Regions from separate parts of the Homo sapiens genome. Here region 1 is linked to region 2. The links are contacts of gene promoters, found by promoter capture Hi-C in blood cells and fetal thymus (Javierre and others, 2016). All regions are on one chromosome and are shown on one strand. Each heading gives the region's core, a stretch centred on a gene start or on the middle of the fragment in contact. The rest is flanking DNA. Distances are from core to core; before and after follow the strand shown.

Region 1 (3,373 bases), core at 242-2,741, 8.1 Mb before region 2:
GGCCTCCAAAAATGTTGGAACTACAGGTGTGAGCCACCATGCCTGTCCTGTTATTTCCGAAATTAAGAAGATCTATCCGACTCCCAGAATAATACAACTATTCTTTCATTATTTCTTCTAACACTTTGTTTTACTTTCTTCATTTGGCACTTCAATCCTCAAAAATTACTGTGGAAATAATTTTTGTGTGAGGTATAAAGTAGTATTTACCTTTTTTTGCAAATAGACCCCTAATAATCCTAACAGCACTGCCCTGAAATGACATCTTTAAATTCCCATTTACACTGGGTGTGCTGCATAACTAAATTAAGAATTTTGATTTTTTTTTCAAAAATCCTTGACAATAATGAGAATCTGAAACCCACTCATTATTTCTTCACTTCCCTCCTAGTCTCCTCCCTTCCAGTTTTGCTTTCCCTATAATTCATTTATTAGAAAGCATCTAGAGTAAACTTTAACAAAACCATCTCTACTTATCCTGCAAAAGCTTTCAGTGGTCTTAACACTAGTCAAACGCTTATCCCGGCCTACTGGGTTCTACATGATCTGGACCCGCCTACCTCTTGGACCTCGTCACACATTTCAGTCAAAACAGACCTCTTTTCTGCAGGTGCTACTATCATCATTCACACCGCACAAGGATGCAAAGTAACTCGCCCAAGGTCACACAGCCGGCAAGGGGCAGAGCCCCGATCTAGGGCTCTTTTAGCCACTAAGTGTGCTACATTAAAGGCCCTCTACAGAGAAGCATTCATTTAAACATTTCACGGTTTGACAGTGTCTCTAAACGCTGCCATTCAAGGAGACCCGCAGGAGTATTACGTAAAGTCGTGTCCTACCTTGTCCGGCAGCAACAAAAAGATGACGACCAAGTATCCTTACGCTTCCGCTAGAGGGACACTCAAAAGTTCTCGCACGCACAAGATCACCCCCATCGCGGGAGAGGCGGAGGCCCGCGCGGGTGCTGGGACCCAGACCGGGGGACTCGGGCAGCGGATGCAGGCCTTACCTTCCTCGTCGTCCTGGTCTGCGCTGGACCCGGCGCCCGGCCACTCCTGCGCGTCGCCCTCGGTCCCCGCCGCCTCCTCCTCCTCGGAGCCCGAACCCTGGCTGAAGTCTATCCGCTGGGCCAGACGCGCCAGATTCTGCGACATGGACAGCGGGGGCAGGTACGTCTCGGTGCCATCCAGGCCCACCTCATGGACCTGCTTCTCGCAGGCCGATTCGATGCTGATCCGCACTGCGCGCACCCCGGACATGCTGGCTGCGTCGGCCAGCGGTGGGAGGACCCCCCACGAGCCAAAAAACGAGGTACGAAGAGGAGGCTTCCCTGCGGAGAGCCGGGAACTCAGAAGCCCGCAGCCGCGGTGCCTCAGAAGACCCTCGGGAAACCGAACGCAACGCTCAGACTGGAAACAAAGGAGCTGGCCCAGCAACTTTCCCAGAACGCACCGCAAGCTCCCTCCTCGGTAAGTCTTTCGGAGCAAAACTGGGCAGGCGCGGAAGCTCCAGGGTTCCCTAGAGCGCTTCCGGTGAATCACGGTGCAGGGTGGGGTAAACTTCCGGGCCTATAAGAGGCGTGGCCGGCAGAGGGAGGGAAAGAGCGGTTTGGGAGCCGAGAGTGTGGCGGGTATATTCCTTGCTTTTTAAGCCTGCGTTTGTTTAAAAAGTGGATGAGGAAAGAAAGCTGCAGAGGCTAGAAGAGTTAAGGAAAAGGAAATTAATGGATCCTTGGATCTTAGCAATGAGAGTCCTGTTGAGAGAACTGAGATCTGGTGGCGCGCGCCTGTGGTCCAGCTACGCGGGTGGCTGAGGCGGGAGAATGGCTTGAGCCCTGGAGATGGAGGCTGCAGTGAGCCGAGATCTCACCGCTGCATTCCAGCCTAAGCAACAGAGTGGGATCCTGCCTCAAAACAAAAGTTATTTTAAATTAGCAAGAAATTTTTTAAAGAAACACTATCTGAAGAGTTAGAAATTAAGGGCATGGCTTGGGGGAAACAATCGTGCTTATCACCACTTAAAATTATACTACGTAATTATTTGGTTTCCTGTTAGTTATAACTCTATGACAGCCAATATCTGCAGCAGACATAATAGACTCTGGCATGTAGTAAGTGCTTAATATTTATTTTATGCCCGAGTAACAGAATAAATAATGTTGATCTCGCTTTTTTATTAGTGATGGGGTCCCACTATGTTGCCCAGGCTGAGTGCAGAGGTTATTCACAAGTGCTGTCAGCACGCTACAGCCTGGAGCTCCTGGGCTCCAACGATGCTCCTGCCTTAGCCTCCTGAGGAGCTGGGACTATAGGAGCGTGTCACCATGCCTGGCCTGCAAATAATATTTAAAAGATTAAGAAGAAGTGGTATAACTTCAGTCTTTGGGTCTCCAAGAACGTATTTCATTAGTAGGAATTCCACAGACAAAGATGGATTATTTTATATTACAAACCTCTATATTTCGTTTAAGGAATTATATATACCGTTTATCATGAGTGTTTGCCAGGTTTTGTTCTGACCAAGATATATCTAGGTTTTGAACTACTTTCCTAAGGTATTTAGGAAAATACGGTTGCCCTGGTGTCAGTCCCTGCTGAAGAAGAAAGTAGATGGCCGTGTGTGGAGGGGGTTGAATTTTCATGAGAGAAACCTATTTCTGGCAAGCTGTACAGTCTGTCGCCCAATCATGTTCGAGAACCACTGTACTTGCTTTTCGTGTAAATTTGTTTAAAAATTTTTTTTAACTTTATTTTAAAATCTGATTAATAGCCAGGCGCAGTGGCAGTCTAATAGTGCAGACAAAAACAAGACAACAACAAATGATTATGATTCCTAGAATAAGCAAAGCTTTTGCCACCAAGTCTTCAAGATCAAAACTAGCTGCTTAGCCAGTTGTTTAAAGATGTGTTGGATCTGAAAGGTTAGTTGTTAAGGTTTTCATATTATCCATTAACGTAGTGATATTATCTGATTCATCTGGGATACAGACATAACACACAGTTTTTATGATAATGCAAGTTCCTCCCTGGGCTTCGGTGAGTATGTCAAAAGCCATACGGTTTTGTAATAATGGCCTTTTCCATAAGAATAACTATTGTTTAATAATGGAATACTTATGTAGCTATCTTTTGGGTATAATTGGTTAGGACCTCTATATGCCAAATAACATCTTCAACACTCAGTTGTGGTATGAAGATGGAAGCTAAGTGATCATACCAATGAAACACAGGATGAACCCAATGAGATCATAAATAAGGAAAATTTGCAGGTTTTGGCAAAGTACAAACTACTCAAATATATGATTAAGCATAACCTGAAAAACATCATCCTAACTATCCTGGAAGTAACCATGGTCATAGGTTAGTGCCACATA
Region 2 (3,176 bases), core at 531-3,030:
TTATAACTGGGGGAACAACCCACAGTGAGATACCAATAGGTACCCATAGGTTAGCTAAAATCAAAATCTGACAATTCCAATTATTGGCAAGAATGCGGGGTAGCTAAAACTACATTCTGTGTACATTCTGTGGGGTAGCTTTACCCAAACTGTACAGTCACTTTGGGAAAGAATTTGGTATTATTTAGCAGATAGAAGACACACATAGCTAGCAATTTCATTTCTAGGTATACCTGAGATCAGGGCTCAGCAAACTTTAAAGGGCCAGATGTAAATGTGGTAGGCTTTGCAGGTAACATACAGCCTTTGTTGAATATTTGTTTTTAAAAAAACTATAAAAACATAAAAATCATTCTTAGCTGGGTGGCTGTACCAAGGCAAGCTATAGGCTGCATATGGCCTACATGCCAGTAGTTTGTTGATGTCTGCACTAGTTAGGGTGAAAATGTGAAGGGAATGGTGAATGATGAAGATTTGGCTCAGGTTTCAGGGTAACAGTTAAGAAAAACAAAGGCTGGATGCAGTGGCTCACGCCTGTAATCCCAGCACCTTGGGAGGCCAAGGCAGACGGATCACCTGAGGTCAGGAGTTCGAGACCAGCCTGGCCAACATGGTGAAACTCCCTGTCTTTTAAAAATACAAAAATTAGCCAGGCACGGCGGCAGCTGCCTGTAATCCCAGCTACTCGGGAGGCTGAGGCAGGAGAATCGCTTGAACCTGGGAGGTGGAGGTTGCAGTGTGCCGAGATCTCGCCACTGCACTCCAGCCTGGGTGAGAGCGAGACTCGGTCTACAAAAAAAAAAAAAAAAACAGTTCAGGGATAACAACAAAGGAAAACATGCTTTTATGAAACCAGATTTTCTCATTTCCTACAACATTACAGGCACTCGTTTAAATATTTATTGCTACCTGTTTTATATCGATAAGAGGTCATTTGGAAATGTTGATTACCTTGACATTCCATATCTCTAGACTTAAAGCTAACCTAATAAGTACAAAGCAGCCTTAGAAATTTATGTCTAGGTTTCTGGTAGTCAAATTTTTGAGGGCCTTGGCTACGATAAGATGATAAGACACAATCTCTGCTGTACAGGAGCTCTGAATGATTTTGTGTATGGGGTGGTGAAATATATAATCAAATTTAGTATGTATATATTGTACTGAGGGCAATTAAGTCACTCAATTCAGTATAAGTGCTGACTGGGCAGCCCCTGTGGGCATTTTGTCTCCGATATTAATAACAAATATCTATCAAAGACAACGCCGCCTGTAAAAACTACAAATATTTCGAAAGATTTTTGTGTTACCTATCTCATGTCATTCTTGGAAGAGCTCTGAGAGATAGGCAGTGTGGGGCCTATCTGAAAGAGAAGTAAAGTGGGACCTCTGAAAATCAAATTTGGCCGTGGTCACCTTGTAAATTGACAGTAAACCTGGGATTAAATTCAATCTCAGGCATTTCTCCTTTCTACTGAGTTAATTTAAATATAAGGTCTTTCCTTCTAGAGTGCAAAGTGAAAAGACAGCAGGAAGAGCTAACTACACTTCTACTTGCTCTCATTTACGCGCAGCGCTGCTGGTAGCTAGCGTGTCACCGCGTCGTGCTTCTCCTGACACCGGGACATTTACTTCACCCCCTCCCCCGGAATACCAGTACCTTATGCTCTCCTCCCAGCAGCCTGTGGGTGCCTCCTCCTTCCTCAGCCACGCCGGAGTTCACTGTGGCCTTTGCTCAAATTACCTGGGCGCAGCCATCTTTGGCTGACTCGTGACGCGGCGTGGGCGGGCGCCGGGTCGCGGCTGCTAATTGGACTGCGGGACGGAGGTTGCAGCCAGCAGCGGCTTTGGGCTGAGAAGCTTCCGGCCCTAGGAGGTGCCGGGAGGCTAAGCGTTGAGGTTTGTTTGCCTGGCGTAGAGTGTGCTCGTTTCACCTACTCTTGCCTCCCAGGACAGAACTTGTAGAAATTGTGAAATTTCGAGATATAAGTTGGGTGACCCTCAGTCAGCCTCTTCCATTGAAAACGTACCTCGGGCATATTACTTAACTTCCTGGTCAGTAGAGCCTACTTACGTTCTTGGCATGGGGTAAATGAAAACTGCACAGCTCTTGGCATATGATAGCTACTCAGGTTAAAAATAAGTCAAAGGTGAGCTATTTCTTGGCTCTATCGATTTTCTACTCTCCCTAGGAACTTAAGCTCCCTGTGCCATGTTTTGATCTGTATTGATTGCCCTACCATAATCAGCACCTCAGAGCTGCAGCTTATTTTTCTGAGGATTTCTCGTGTTCTCCAGAGTACTGCTTATTTGGAAGCAGTGTTGGGTGAAAGTCATCTTATTTCTTCTTGCTTTTTAAGTATAAATACTAGAAAATTTAGAATTATATATGTGGCTTGCATTATATTTCTATTGGACAGTGCTGTTCAGAAGGTACCTCTAATGCTCTCCTCCCAGCAGCCAGTGGATGCCTCACCAGGTCTTCCTCAGCCATGCTGGGGCTCCCTGCAACCTTTGCTCAGTTCGCTTGGACTAATTAACCCAATAGAAGGGAAAAATGCCTACAATTGAATTTTATCTTAACTCCATTAAGATTAGCAGGTAAACATTGTGCCAAAAAATATATAACTAACTGTAGCAATAAATACATGATCATAACACATTATCAGAAATCTTAATTATTCTCATCCTCTCAAATTTCTGAACAAGTGATAAAGTGTTGCATTGTCCAGATAATTTTTATACTGTCTCTCCATTGCAGGGTTGCTTGACCATTAGGCTCCATAGTGCCAAGAAGTCTGTAATTGCAGTTTCTAAACTTGCACAAATAGAAAGACTTATTTTCACGAAGGTGTACAAGAAGGAAAATTCCTAGTCTTTTTTTTATTTTTATTTTTTATTTTTTAGACAGAGTTTTGCTCTCGTCGGCCAGGCTGGAGTGCAATGGCCTGATCTCAGCTCATTGCAACTTCTGCCTTCCAGGTTCAAGCGATTCTCCTGCTTCAGCCTCCAGAGTAGCTGGGATTACAGGCGTGTGCCACCACGCCCAGCTGATCAGCTGATTTTTTTTTTTGTTTTTGAGACTGAGTCTCGTTCTGTCACCCAGGCTGGAGTGTAGTGGTGTGATTTCGGCTCACTGCAAGCCCCGCCTCCTGGGTTCACAGCATTCTCCTGCCTCA

The links. The method cuts DNA at HindIII sites, captures the fragments that hold promoters and counts their contacts. A CHiCAGO score of 5 or more calls a contact.
Region 1: a contact is called between the fragment with the promoter of MED17 here and the fragment with the promoter of TMEM126A in region 2, in 4 of 17 cell types (total CD8 T cells, naive CD4 T cells, non-activated CD4 T cells and 1 more). The highest score is 7.3, in total CD8 T cells.

What each region holds. Positions count from the first base shown.
Region 1 is chr11:93,782,400-93,785,772 of GRCh38, reverse strand. MED17 (mediator complex subunit 17) reads right to left here and starts at 1,491. Exons shown (of 12, transcript NM_004268.5): 1 at 1,010-1,491. The coding sequence starts at 1,259. RefSeq lists silencers at 759-953, 955-1,084 and enhancers at 1,215-1,434, 1,376-1,670. The HindIII fragment of the contact is 2,360 bases long and covers 490-2,849 here.
Region 2 is chr11:85,646,571-85,649,746 of GRCh38, reverse strand. TMEM126A (transmembrane protein 126A) reads right to left here and starts at 1,780. Exons shown (of 5, transcript NM_032273.4): 1 at 1,658-1,780. RefSeq lists enhancers at 1,530-1,799, 1,970-2,019. The HindIII fragment of the contact is 2,186 bases long and covers 1-1,859 here.